Regions from separate parts of the Homo sapiens genome. Here regions 2, 3 and 4 are each linked to region 1. Evidence: promoter capture Hi-C in 16 types of primary human blood cells and fetal thymus (Javierre and others, 2016). All regions are on one chromosome and are shown on one strand. Each heading gives the region's core, a stretch centred on a gene start or on the middle of the fragment in contact. The rest is flanking DNA. Distances are from core to core; before and after follow the strand shown.

Region 1 (3,095 bases), core at 366-2,865:
GAACTGTTTTCCAAATGAATCAAACCTTTCTCTGGCACCAAGAAGGGACATACAGTATTCCGAGCTCTGCCCTTGTTTTCTTATCAAGTTTTCTCTAACAGCTGGAAGTGGTTGAAGGGGGCTGTCTTAAGGAGACCCCCTGCTCTTCTTTTGACAGCTGATCAAAAGAAAATAGGTCACGCTTCTCAAACTTATGTCCACCCTGTCCTTAATTACTGTCTCTTTAAACAAAGGCAACATCTGCGCAACCTCAGCTAGCTTGAATCTTCGGAGGCAAACAGAGCGCAACCTGCTTTGGAAGAATCTTGTTACGTTTAAGGCTTTATGCCGGGTGTTGGCCTCTCTGTCTTCAACTACCCCTCCACCCCGACTCGGACTGCAGAAATCTCCAACTCTCTGTCCCCCAGTTCCACTCCCACCTCCAGACCTGGGGTTGCCAAACAACGGAAATTCTAGGAAGACGTAGGTGCGGTTTTTAAAGCCTTGGCTTGTGAGCGTTCTCAGGCTGGCCGGGGCGCTGGTCTTTTCAGAAACAAGGTTTGAATATGCAGGTGTCAGCCAGGATTCCTTGTCGTCTGCCCACCGCCGTTTCTCTCCCGGGATTTGAGAGAAGCGGGAGTGTGTGTGTGTGTGTGTGTGTGTGTGTGTGCGCGTGTGTGTGTCTCGTGTTAGGAGAAAGGTCCGTGGTTGCCGTCTCAGCTGGTTTGCTTACTCTCTGCCCCCAGGAGAAGTTTGCTCACTTGGGACACCAGCGACCCTCCTCACCTCCACCTCACCGGTTCTACACTCTCCCCACTTCTTTCCAAGTCGCTGATGCAGAAAGCACTTGGTCACCTTGAAACGGCAGCTCCCGGAATTCTAGTTTTGTTTTGCAATCTAGCAGGGCTCTTCGGAAGCCTCATAACTGAGATTTATGGGCTCACCGGGTAATTAAATGATGTTATTGTGTTAACTTTGCATGCATTACTGCTGCCCGCGCCGCCCGTGGGCCGCCGGCCGGCCGCAGCTCGCTGGCGACGAGGGCACTACAGTTGCTCTGACCGCGTAGATTATGCATGTCCCGGCCTCGGGAATTTACCATGCATTAGAATACATTAGCGCCTGCATTTTAAAAGGCTAAACTATTGGCTCCCAGCTAGGGACTCTCGGTAAGTGGCTTGTTAGTGACGAGTGTTTGTCTATACTGGCACATAGCGGAGTCTTTTGCTCCCGGCTTACTCGCCTCCAGGAAAGCTTTGGGGTGAGGCGAAGGCGATTGAAGCAATGCCCCTTCCCCCAGATCGCAGCTGCTCAGGGGGGACACAGCACGGCATCTTTCACCGAATCTCTCTCGCTCGCTCGCACTCCAGCCTCCCTCTCCCCAGCGACCCCCCCACCTTCTCCTCCCTCCCTCTCCTTGACGTTTGATTCCAGTAGCAAAGGAGGTAAAAAAGGCACCGAGCCGTCAGCCAAACCTGAAAAGTGCGGCCCCGCCCCCTCCACAGCCACTGGTAGCTTCCCGTGGAAGGCCCGCCTCCCGGGGCAGCTGCGGCCTCGGAGTGGTTGCGCTTGGCGCCCGTCGGGCGTGGCCCCGCCCCAGGTCCGGGAGGGTAGGTTGGCTGCCCCGGCGAGCGGCAGAGCCCTTCTGGACAGCTCCCGCTCACCCAAACAGAAGACGTCGGCGCCGGAGCGGGCTCGGACATGGCGAGGCTGCGAGCCGGCCCGAGCGGCGGGGCCCGGTGATCCCTCCCTCCCTCCCCGTCCCCTCCCCTCTCCCGCACGCACGCCCCGTCCGCCCCCACCCCGCCCCCACCCCGGGCGAGCCCGCCCGCAGCCCGGGGCGCACACCCGCACGCGCACTCCTCTCCACTCACTCCCGCGCCCGCCCCCACTCCCGCAGCCGAGCCCCGCCACGCGCGCCTTGCCCGCCCGCCGGCCGCCCCCGCCGCCCCCGCCGCCCCCGGGCCCTGATGGACTGAATGAAGGCTGCCTACACCGCCTATCGATGCCTCACCAAAGACCTAGAAGGCTGCGCCATGAACCCGGAGCTGACAATGGAAAGTCTGGGCACTTTGCACGGGCCGGCCGGCGGCGGCAGTGGCGGGGGCGGCGGCGGGGGCGGCGGGGGCGGCGGCGGGGGCCCGGGCCATGAGCAGGAGCTGCTGGCCAGCCCCAGCCCCCACCACGCGGGCCGCGGCGCCGCTGGCTCGCTGCGGGGCCCTCCGCCGCCTCCAACCGCGCACCAGGAGCTGGGCACGGCGGCAGCGGCGGCAGCGGCGGCGTCGCGCTCGGCCATGGTCACCAGCATGGCCTCGATCCTGGACGGCGGCGACTACCGGCCCGAGCTCTCCATCCCGCTGCACCACGCCATGAGCATGTCCTGCGACTCGTCTCCGCCTGGCATGGGCATGAGCAACACCTACACCACGCTGACACCGCTCCAGCCGCTGCCACCCATCTCCACCGTGTCTGACAAGTTCCACCACCCTCACCCGCACCACCATCCGCACCACCACCACCACCACCACCACCAGCGCCTGTCCGGCAACGTCAGCGGCAGCTTCACCCTCATGCGCGACGAGCGCGGGCTCCCGGCCATGAACAACCTCTACAGTCCCTACAAGGAGATGCCCGGCATGAGCCAGAGCCTGTCCCCGCTGGCCGCCACGCCGCTGGGCAACGGGCTAGGCGGCCTCCACAACGCGCAGCAGAGTCTGCCCAACTACGGTCCGCCGGGCCACGACAAAATGCTCAGCCCCAACTTCGACGCGCACCACACTGCCATGCTGACCCGCGGTGAGCAACACCTGTCCCGCGGCCTGGGCACCCCACCTGCGGCCATGATGTCGCACCTGAACGGCCTGCACCACCCGGGCCACACTCAGTCTCACGGGCCGGTGCTGGCACCCAGTCGCGAGCGGCCACCCTCGTCCTCATCGGGCTCGCAGGTGGCCACGTCGGGCCAGCTGGAAGAAATCAACACCAAAGAGGTGGCCCAGCGCATCACAGCGGAGCTGAAGCGCTACAGTATCCCCCAGGCGATCTTTGCGCAGAGGGTGCTGTGCCGGTCTCAGGGGACTCTCTCCGACCTGCTCCGGAATCCAAAACCGTGGAGT
Region 2 (3,095 bases), core at 170-2,669, 590 kb before region 1:
AGCATTAGTCCGTTCACTAAGGCAGTGCTCTTATGATCTAATCATCTCTTAAAGGTCCCACACTTCTCAACACTGTTGCATTGGGGATTAAGTACATTTCAAACAATAGCAAGGACTGACGCCATGTTGCAAGGTTTGATATTACAGTAAACAGAAAGGTATAAGGTTGTTCCCTGATTCTAAGCACTTGACAGTCTATTGTATAGGAGACTGTAAGTAAAGGATTCGTAGTACTTCGGTATAGCCTATTCAAAATTCCCATTGAAGTATGCTAAATATAACATCCTTTTAGTGTTTTATTCATGTTTTCTCTCTTACACACACACACACAGTGATCAATGGCAAATGCACATAGGAAACTACTAAATTACCGTGGAAGTATTTTAACGTTTTAGAAAAACTTTATTTGAAGATTTTTGATAGCTTTTAATTTGGTTATATACTTTTAGCTTTAGAGCCATACTGTCAGAATTTTGGGGAGAGAAGAGACATTGCAGACCAAAACAGTGACACATTTATGTGCTACTAGAAAATTACAGACATTTTACACCAAAAAAGAATTAACCTGCTGCCTATTGCTTCTCTTTTTTTTTGGCATTTGATGTTGTTGCTGTAAGACTATTAATTTTAAACTAGTGCTATAAGCAGCTGGAAGCTTTGATTCTGGTGATTCATCCCGTTACCTCTGAACAGATGAAAAGAAGTAAATGAATTTTGATGTTGAAAGTCCCCTTTCTTACAAAAATCCATTAATGATGTTAATTAAATGAATATTTGCCTCTTTCAGCTGTCTAGCTATTGAAAATTGGGCATTAGATCACTTTTTTAAACTGTGAAAGTTTCTTTATTGTGCCATTTAAATTATTTTTAAGTGGCCAAATCAGCGGTGTTAAGTATGTACACATTGTTGTTCAGCCATCACCACCAATCGTTCTCCGAAACTTTTTCATCTTCTCAAAGTGAAACCTTATACCCATTGAATGCTAACTTCCCATTCTTTCCTGCCTCCATCCTCTGTCAACCACTGTTCTGCTTTCTGTCTCTATGAATTTGGCTAATGTAGGTAGTTCATATAAGTGGAATCAAATAAGTGTCTGGCTTATTTCACTTAGCATAGTGGCTTTAAGGTTTATCCATGTTAGAGCTTGTGTCAGGAGCTTACAATTGTGTTGATCCATTCAACAGAGTGGATCTGTCATTCTACAGACACTTGGGTTTCTTCTATCTTTTGGCGACTGTGAATAATGCTGCTATGAATATTGATATAGAACTATCTGTTCAAGTCCCTGCTTTCAGTTATTTTAGGTACACAGGATTGGATTTGTTGTAATACATGGTCATTCTATCTTTAATATTTTGAGGAACTGTCATACTGTTTTCTACAGTGGCTGTACCATTTTACATTCCTACTAGCGGTGCATTATAGTCTCAGTTTCTCCACATCCTCATCAACACTCGATATTTTCTTTTTTCTTTCTTTTTTTTTTTTTTTTGTTTTTTGAGATGGAGTCTCGCTGTGTTGCCCAGGTTGGAGTGCAGTGGTACAATCTTGGTTCACTGCAACGTCTGCCTCCCAGGTTCAAGCAATTGTCCTGCCTCAGCCTCCTGAGTAGCTGGGATTATAGGCATACACCACCACGCCTGGCTAATTTTTGTATTTTTAGTAGAGATGGGGCTTCACCATGTTGGTCAGGCTGGTCTCGAAATCTTGACCTTGTGATCTGCCTGCCTCGTCCTCCCAAAGTGCTAGGATTACAGGCATGAGCCACCACACTCAATCTATTTTTTTTTTTTTAAATAATAGCAATCCTAATGAGCGTGAAGTGTGAAGTTATATAGGTATCTCATTGTGATTTTGATTTGAATTTCCCTAATGATTAGTGATGCTGAGGCAAAAGAACATTATAATAATTATTGACCATTACTTTAACTTTTTAAAAAATAGATACATCATTTCTGATGCTTATGTTCAGTGTCCTATTATTAGAATAAATTTTTCCTCATTGGTATACAATTTCTCAACTTCATTTATATGAGAGTGGCTTTTAAAATGATCCATGGTGTTTATTGTGTTACACCCTACTAAGGACAGTCACAAAAAGATTAGACTCTAAATTGAAATAAAATTGTTATTCTTTTCACATGTAGTTTAGAGAATATAATTTTGGGCTATACTTTTGAGCTTAAGCTTTTAATTCATTGCTTTAAATTTTAAATGCTTATGGTAAGAGAATAAAGAGCTACCGCTCTGCAGCCATAGAGAAACCTTACATTCAACAAGGTTCAAACAAGGCCTTACAAGGCTAAAGGCTACTGTTCACTAGAAATGAATGATTTATCAGAGGGGAAATATGCACACATAGGTTGGTAGAGATAATGAGAACTGAGGAACTAGCAAGGCTTAAAATTGTCCTGCTAGTTATATTGATTTAAAGACTCTTTCCTGGTATAGTAGTTCCTCCTTATCTGCAGTTTCAGTTACTCATGGTACAATACAGTAAGATATTTAGAGAGAGAGACCACATTCATATAATTATTACAGTATATTATAATTGTAGTATTTTATCATTAGTTATTGTTAATGCCATTCTGTGCCTAATTTATAAGTTAAACTTTATCATATGTATGTATAGGGAAAAAACATATATAGGATTTGGTGCTATCTGAGGTTTCAAGTATCCACTGGGGTACTTGGAATATATCTCCTATGGATAACCAGGGGCTACTGTATATTTTCCTCTTGTATAGATACAATGATTTGGTTGGAATGAATTGATCTGATATGTCCCACTCTATGCAGTTATGTTAAGTATTTACAAAAAGGGATCTTTACTAACCAAAAGATTTTCTCTTTTAATAATACCTTACTTGGTTGTATATGAAAAGTTGCAAAGCTCTGTAGTGTTTCTATGCATAAAACTTACTTTATTTTTGGTATTTTGAGTATTTTTTAATTTTTCTATAATATGTTATTTTTTAGGAAATAATAAGATCTATGTAAATGTATTTGTATTTTAAATATCTTTTCCACAGATTTGTAATAGAATTTATAAAAAGTAAATGAGTAATATTTCTGGAGATTATAAATCTCTGTT
Region 3 (3,095 bases), core at 204-2,703, 580 kb before region 1:
ATTACAGGTGTGAGCCACCGTGCTGGCCTACTTCACATTCTAGCTTTAGTTCCCACTTACTGTTTTCAGTATCTCTATCTTGGGCCAAATTAAACTGGTTTTTCTTTCCCAGGTATAATTGGAGTTGTTCTGCTTCTAGGCTTGATTCATTAATTCAACAAATATTTATTTAGCATCAAATATTCAAATATTTATTAAGCACCTACATGCCAGGCATTGTTCTAAACCCTTGAGCAACATCTGCAAGCAAAATGACAGAAGTCGTCTCAACCCCTGCCTTCTTGCAGGGGGAAGGGGTTGAGGGGCAGTAAGTAGAATAAATTAGTGTATTTTTTATAATATATTAGAAGATGGTAGATGCTATGCCAAAAGACTAGAGAAGAGCAAAAGATGAAGAAGACGGTGGCCATGAGGGGAGGTGGTCAGGATAGGATTCAACTTCTGCTGTGGTTTATTCTTTAGGTGCACCCTTATTTCTTCTTGTCAAATCTGAATGGATTTAGGGACCTCTCTGGGGTGACACTTCTGTTGTGAGGTCCTCCCCTTTGTCTACTGAGGTCAACTTCCTCTGAATATCTATGACTTTCTTATTGTTGTTGACCTTGCTTATTGATAAGTATTGCTTTCTTCCTTGGTTTTCAGTTATTTGTTAATTTATCTTTACTTTCCTATTAAGCTCTGATATCTTTGAGGAAAGGGTTATTACACCTTAGTATACCTAATTTTTATTGTTTCTTTAGGGTAGTAGGTAAAAGCATTGGCTTTAGAGGTGGTCTGCCTGGTTTGCCTCCTGGCCCCACCACTCCCTAGCCACAAGACTGGGGCAGCTTATCAACCCGTGCCTCAGGTTCTTCTTTATCCTTGAGATTTCTTTCTAAAATTGATTGTTTTCTGCCTTATTTTCTATGTCACTCTCTTGCTTGCTCTTAGTATTATTATACTTTGGAATTTGTATGTCTATGTGTTCGCCTTCCTCCCCTGAATGTAAGGTACAAAAAGGCAGAAACCCTGTTATTAGTCCCTAGTATGCCTTCCCACCCATTTTGAATAAATGGATGTTTGTATGAGTAAAACGAAATAATTTCGAACACCTTGTGTCTTGTATAAATATATAAAATACACAAATATAAAATGAAATGTGCAGTGAACATTTGTGACCATTGAACTTAGGTCTTTTGTTAACACGTCTTAGTAATGATGAGGAAGAATATCCCTTCTTCATATGGCTTCTACTTTGTGTTATCCCGGGTAGTCCGGCTCTTCACACTTCATCTGCTTCCTTCCTGTGTTTCCCTTGGAAGTCATATAGGCATTCGCTCCTTTAATGTCTTTATCTTTATGGTTTTAGTAGCATTGATTTTTGTGGGGTATAACTAGTAAATGATTCTAAGATATTTTGAGAATATAAATGCAAGAAAAGTATTTTATAATAATGGATGAGAAAAGAGGGAAGGAGAAAGGGTTTCCATACTCTTTCATTGAATTTCAGCCCCCGAATGTGTGGTAATTCCTGGAATGATGGTAGTCAGTACTGATTCCCAAGCCCATCGCCTCTGCTGACTGGAAGCACAGAATGATGGGCCCATGCTTTCAAGAATATGTGACTGTTCTTGAGGGAACACTAAAATTAACTCGTATTCTATCTAAATTCTTATAACCATTAATACTTTATAGCCATTAATCTCCATATGATTTCCCTATGTAATCATGAGTGCATGCTTCAATACATTTACTCTTGAAAGACTGACTTGTAAAAATGTGAAAAAAGAACCATAGCTCATCCCAGCTAAAGCAAAATGGTTCAGTTTTACCATCCTTAAATTTGATCTATGTTTACATCTGTTTACAAATCTGAGCATTCCCTCCCCGCAACTGACCTAATGCTTCAGTGCCCTCTTCTAATAAAAAAATCAATATACACATCCAGCACTCATGAGTAACCCTATAATAATAAACCAGATCTCATGCAATTGAAAAAAATAATTTCAGGAAAAAACTCATTAGGATTGTGACCAACCACAGTCTTTCTTGAAAATAAGTATCATGCAGTTTAGGAATATAATAATCCTTTTAATTTGATTATGCTATTTTCTTAAGCCTTAATCTTAGTTAAAAAAATGTCTTTATTAAAATGATGTATTTGGTGTTCTTTTTCTTCACACAATTAATGATGCAGTTAATCTAAGGAATGTTAAATTAAGTTGTTTTAAAATCTGATTTAGCTCAATTTTATAATTCTTTTTCTGCCTCTTTTTTTTTCATGAACATTTACAATATAAATATTTATGAAGGAGTACATGTGTTCTAAACCATTGGTTTGTATCATATAATACATGAAAATATTACATAGTAAAAAGTGTATCTTTTAAAAAATATATCTTTGTTTTTCTAGAAATACAATTGCTCTATTTCTATGTTAACTGTTTTGCTTTCTATTTCACAAATGTTTTACATTAAAAAATCTGCTTTAAAAATATGAATTTTTAAATACTTTTGTAAAATACATCAATTACGTGAAACAGCGAAAGTACAGTTTATATTCTTTTTCTAATCCTTGATGGTTGCACTTTGATAAATAAATAGATCATCTAAGATTCAATAGGCCAATTGCAGCATATAATAGCTATTCAGAGGCAATTAAACTGCCTTTTTTCATGCCGGCGTGTGAGCCGCCCTTTCACAACCTTCAACTTGATTCGTGGTGATTCAAAATTAACTTAAAAGTCTTGTTTGCTGACAGCTTAAGGCTTAATTGACTGAAAGCCAAATAGAGTGTGTTCTGTATTCAGCACTAAGGCTATTGATAAAGCCATGTGTAAATTGTGCATGGTGAAAGACAGCGATTGGGCCTCCTGTTCTTGTATTAGTCCACAACTTAGCATTGCTGCACAGTCAGAATTGCTTTGTCAAGTCTTTTATCACACCAGGTTAACTCTCTCTGGAGTTGTTCCAGCAGCAGAGCAGTCGAGTATTGAGCTTCTACAACACTGTAGGGCCTGCTATAATTCTGTTACTTATTTGTGGTTTCATTTTTTTTTCTTTAATATAGTATTGGCCTTTCATTTCTGAACAGGATTGTTGGTAGCATATTTCAA
Region 4 (3,095 bases), core at 208-2,707, 550 kb before region 1:
ATGTTTTGGTCTTCAGGTTGCTTATCAAGTGTCCCACAAATGAAAAAAATTTCTACATCTTACGAGGAAAGACGGAAGCAAGCTACCGCTATTGTTTTACTTGGAGTAATAGGAGCTGAATTTGGTGCTGAAATTGAACCTCCTAAACTATTGACCAGACCTCGAAGCTCTAGCCAAATTCCTGAGGGATTCGGGTTGACTAGTGGTGGATCCAACTACTCGCTGGCCAGACATACTTGTAAGTTTTAAAACTTCTAATGCTGATCTGTTGCTTCTGAATACATATTATTTGTCAGCAAAATCTCATAACATTGACTATATCCTGAGTTTTAGCTCATTTAGATTGCTTGCGTGAAGTTAGAAAGCAGTACAATCTGGCACATTTCCCGTTAGTTACAGTAACCTGAACTCCTTTTTAAAAGTTAAAACATCGTCTTTTAAATGCTATTCTTAAAATAACACATTTCTGACCTTTGTATTTTTGCATTGTTCGTCAAGATTTTAGCCAGAATTTATGAAAGCTAGATTCAAGTTAAAGCTTTTAAAATAATTTCTGGAAAACTATGCAGTTTGTTCTGAATGTGGTTTGAAAAGTCAGGACTGGGGTGGAACACCAGTCTTTTCTTTTGAAAAGAAAATATATTCATTCTCCTTTCAATAAATAAATTCTCAACACATATTTGTTAAATTAATGGGCATATTAATAAATTTGTATATGTGATAATACATATAAATAATACATGGGTTTATGAAAAAGAGCATACATGATGAATTATGAATTAACCCTGTAATTTAAAAAATATTCCAGTAACAGTTTTTAAATGACTATAGACTATAACAATCAAAATTCAAAGGGCTGTGTCATTCTACTCTCTTTGGTTCTGTGCTTGGTATGTTAATAATAGGTAAGGGTGCTTTAAAATAAGCTCTTTTGGTTCTTCAGTGTCAGAATTCCTTTCAGTAAGGTCAGAGTGGCATGTGGCACCATATAGCAAAATTATTTCTAATAAATTGTGTCCTCTTAAGGAACAAATATAGTCCAACTGAATACATCACAAAATATTCTTGTAGAACAAAATGCAATAGATCCTTTTGCTTTTTTGGCCTTTAAGCAAGAGAAAAAGATGCATGTTACTTTGTTATTTATGACAGCAGTGAACTTCACTGGACCATTGCCACATACTCTTGCTGTAAAACTGAGGGCCATGTTAGTGACTTTTATTATAAAAGCCCTTCAATAGACTTAGCTGCCCCTCCTATAACTGTTTTTTGAAAGACTTCATTCAACAAATACTTATTAGTGATAATCTCTTGATCTCAGTTTGAGAATCAGAGTAATAACGTTTAAATTTAAACAATACCACCACCAACCATAATGATGCAACTATTATGAGCACTATTTTTTTTTAGCTCTTTACATGCATTACCTCACTTCATCCTCATAATAACCCTGTAAAGTGGATCCCTCTTATCTCGATTTTATGCATAAAGCTGGTGGGGCATAGAGAGGTTTAGTTAACCTGGCAAGGATCATACCTCTGGGAAAGGAGTTTTTGTTTCCATCTAGTCTGTTGTTCCAGAGTTCATGCTTTTGACCATTATGCAAACTGCTGCTATTCAGTGGCTCCCAGTTGGAAAGGGCTTAATGACTAATATGTGCTGTAACTTTACAATTTATTGATTTATTTTATTTTATTTTTTGAGACAGAGTCTCTCTCTGTCACCCAGGCTGGAGTGCAGTGGCATGATCTTGGTTCACTGCAACCTCCTGCCTCAGCCTCCCAAGTAGCCAGGATTACAGGTGTAGGCCACGATGACTGGGTAATTTTTGTATTTTTCATAGAGACGGGGTTTCCCCATGTTGGCCAGGCTGGCCTCAAACTCCTGACCAGAAAGGATCCACCCACCTCAGCCTCCCAAAGTGCTAGGATTACAGGCATGAGCCACTGCACCTGGCTATAACTTTACAATTTAAAAAACACTTTCTTTCCTGTCTTTCCCCTCATTTGATCTTCAAAATGAACTTAAGACTTCTTCAAAGTGACTCAGCCAAAAAGTAGTAAAACCTAAACTTGAACTCAAGTGTCTTGCGACCTGAGAACCGTTTCCCTTCTCCACCTGGGCACATTACTCTCCCTCTACGGCCAACAACTACATGCTTACTGGCTCCTACCTCCCCACTCGGGCTTATTTATCTTTTCTCAAGTTCTTCAAGATCCCTGCTATCCATTCCTAAAACCTTGCTTAAATCTCACCATTTCTACAAAGGGCTCTTTAATTAGTCTAGCTTATCTGTCACTTCAGACAGCCCAGGACTTAACATATGTAGAGCAGGTCCTTATTTAGAAGTTTGGCATTAGACTATTAGAGGTTAATGAAGCTTTGACATGATTTGGTGTGGTGGCTTTCAAACTTTTTTGCTCAATAACTCCCTGAGAGTGTCAAGAAATGTCTAATCCTTTGCACATTTTATGTTGACAGCTACAACTTTTTAATTGCAAAATATATTTTCACAGTATCTTGAGGAGATTGTGAATATTGATGTTTAAAAATAAAACTTATGGCTCTTTCTAATATATTCAGTAGAATATTTAACTATTTCATATCCATCATCATCAATTTTTAATAAATACCTGAACAAACTTCCCATTAAAAATCAGAAATCTTAAATCCTTTATTATTTTCTTTGAAGTGGAAATTTCTACCCTCACAGTTTTAGGGAAGGAGTTCATTAGCAAATTTAGCACCCAGAAATCAATTCCTTTAAAATACCTAGGTCTTAAACTGTTTGTGCTTCTAAAACTACCTATTCCTTGAAACTTTTAATATACTCCTGTTTGAAGAGGGTTACCTATTTTGAAGACCACTGATTAAGTCTAACATATTTTGTGTAATTTCTCAACACCATCCTTTTGTATTTGATATTTTCCTGCAAGGAGAGTGAAAATAAATGCTGTTTCATTTAGAATTTTTCCATTGCTTAGTACAAATATCTGTATATAAATGTAGGAACGGCTGGGCGCGGTGGCTCACACCTGTAATCCCAGCACTTTGGGAGGCCGAGGTGGGTGGATCGGGAGGTCAGGAGATTGAGA

The links. Contacts are between HindIII fragments. The CHiCAGO score rates a contact against its expected background, and 5 or more counts as called.
Region 2: a contact is called between a fragment that was not itself captured here and the fragment with the promoter of ONECUT2 in region 1, in 1 of 17 cell types (endothelial precursors). The highest score is 6.4, in endothelial precursors.
Region 3: a contact is called between a fragment that was not itself captured here and the fragment with the promoter of ONECUT2 in region 1, in 2 of 17 cell types (M2 macrophages and megakaryocytes). The highest score is 6.0, in M2 macrophages.
Region 4: a contact is called between a fragment that was not itself captured here and the fragment with the promoter of ONECUT2 in region 1, in 1 of 17 cell types (endothelial precursors). The highest score is 7.6, in endothelial precursors.

What each region holds. Positions count from the first base shown.
Region 1 is chr18:57,433,759-57,436,853 of GRCh38, forward strand. ONECUT2 (one cut homeobox 2) reads left to right here and starts at 1,616. Exons shown (of 2, transcript NM_004852.3): 1 at 1,616-3,095. The coding sequence starts at 1,959. RefSeq lists enhancers at 342-922, 923-1,502 and a silencer at 1,496-1,545. The HindIII fragment of the contact is 9,553 bases long and covers 1,232-3,095 here.
Region 2 is chr18:56,842,381-56,845,475 of GRCh38, forward strand. All of the region lies in intron 20 of WDR7 (WD repeat domain 7), which reads left to right. Among named protein-coding and RNA genes, the nearest start is that of WDR7, 190 kb to the left of the region's middle. The HindIII fragment of the contact is 1,533 bases long and covers 654-2,186 here.
Region 3 is chr18:56,858,589-56,861,683 of GRCh38, forward strand. The region is part of intron 20 of WDR7 (WD repeat domain 7); the gene reads left to right. Among named protein-coding and RNA genes, the nearest start is that of WDR7-OT1, 180 kb to the right of the region's middle. The HindIII fragment of the contact is 4,950 bases long and covers 1-3,095 here.
Region 4 is chr18:56,879,928-56,883,022 of GRCh38, forward strand. It overlaps WDR7 (WD repeat domain 7), which reads left to right. Exons shown (of 28, transcript NM_015285.3): 21 at 17-238. Among named protein-coding and RNA genes, the nearest start is that of WDR7-OT1, 160 kb to the right of the region's middle. The HindIII fragment of the contact is 1,842 bases long and covers 537-2,378 here.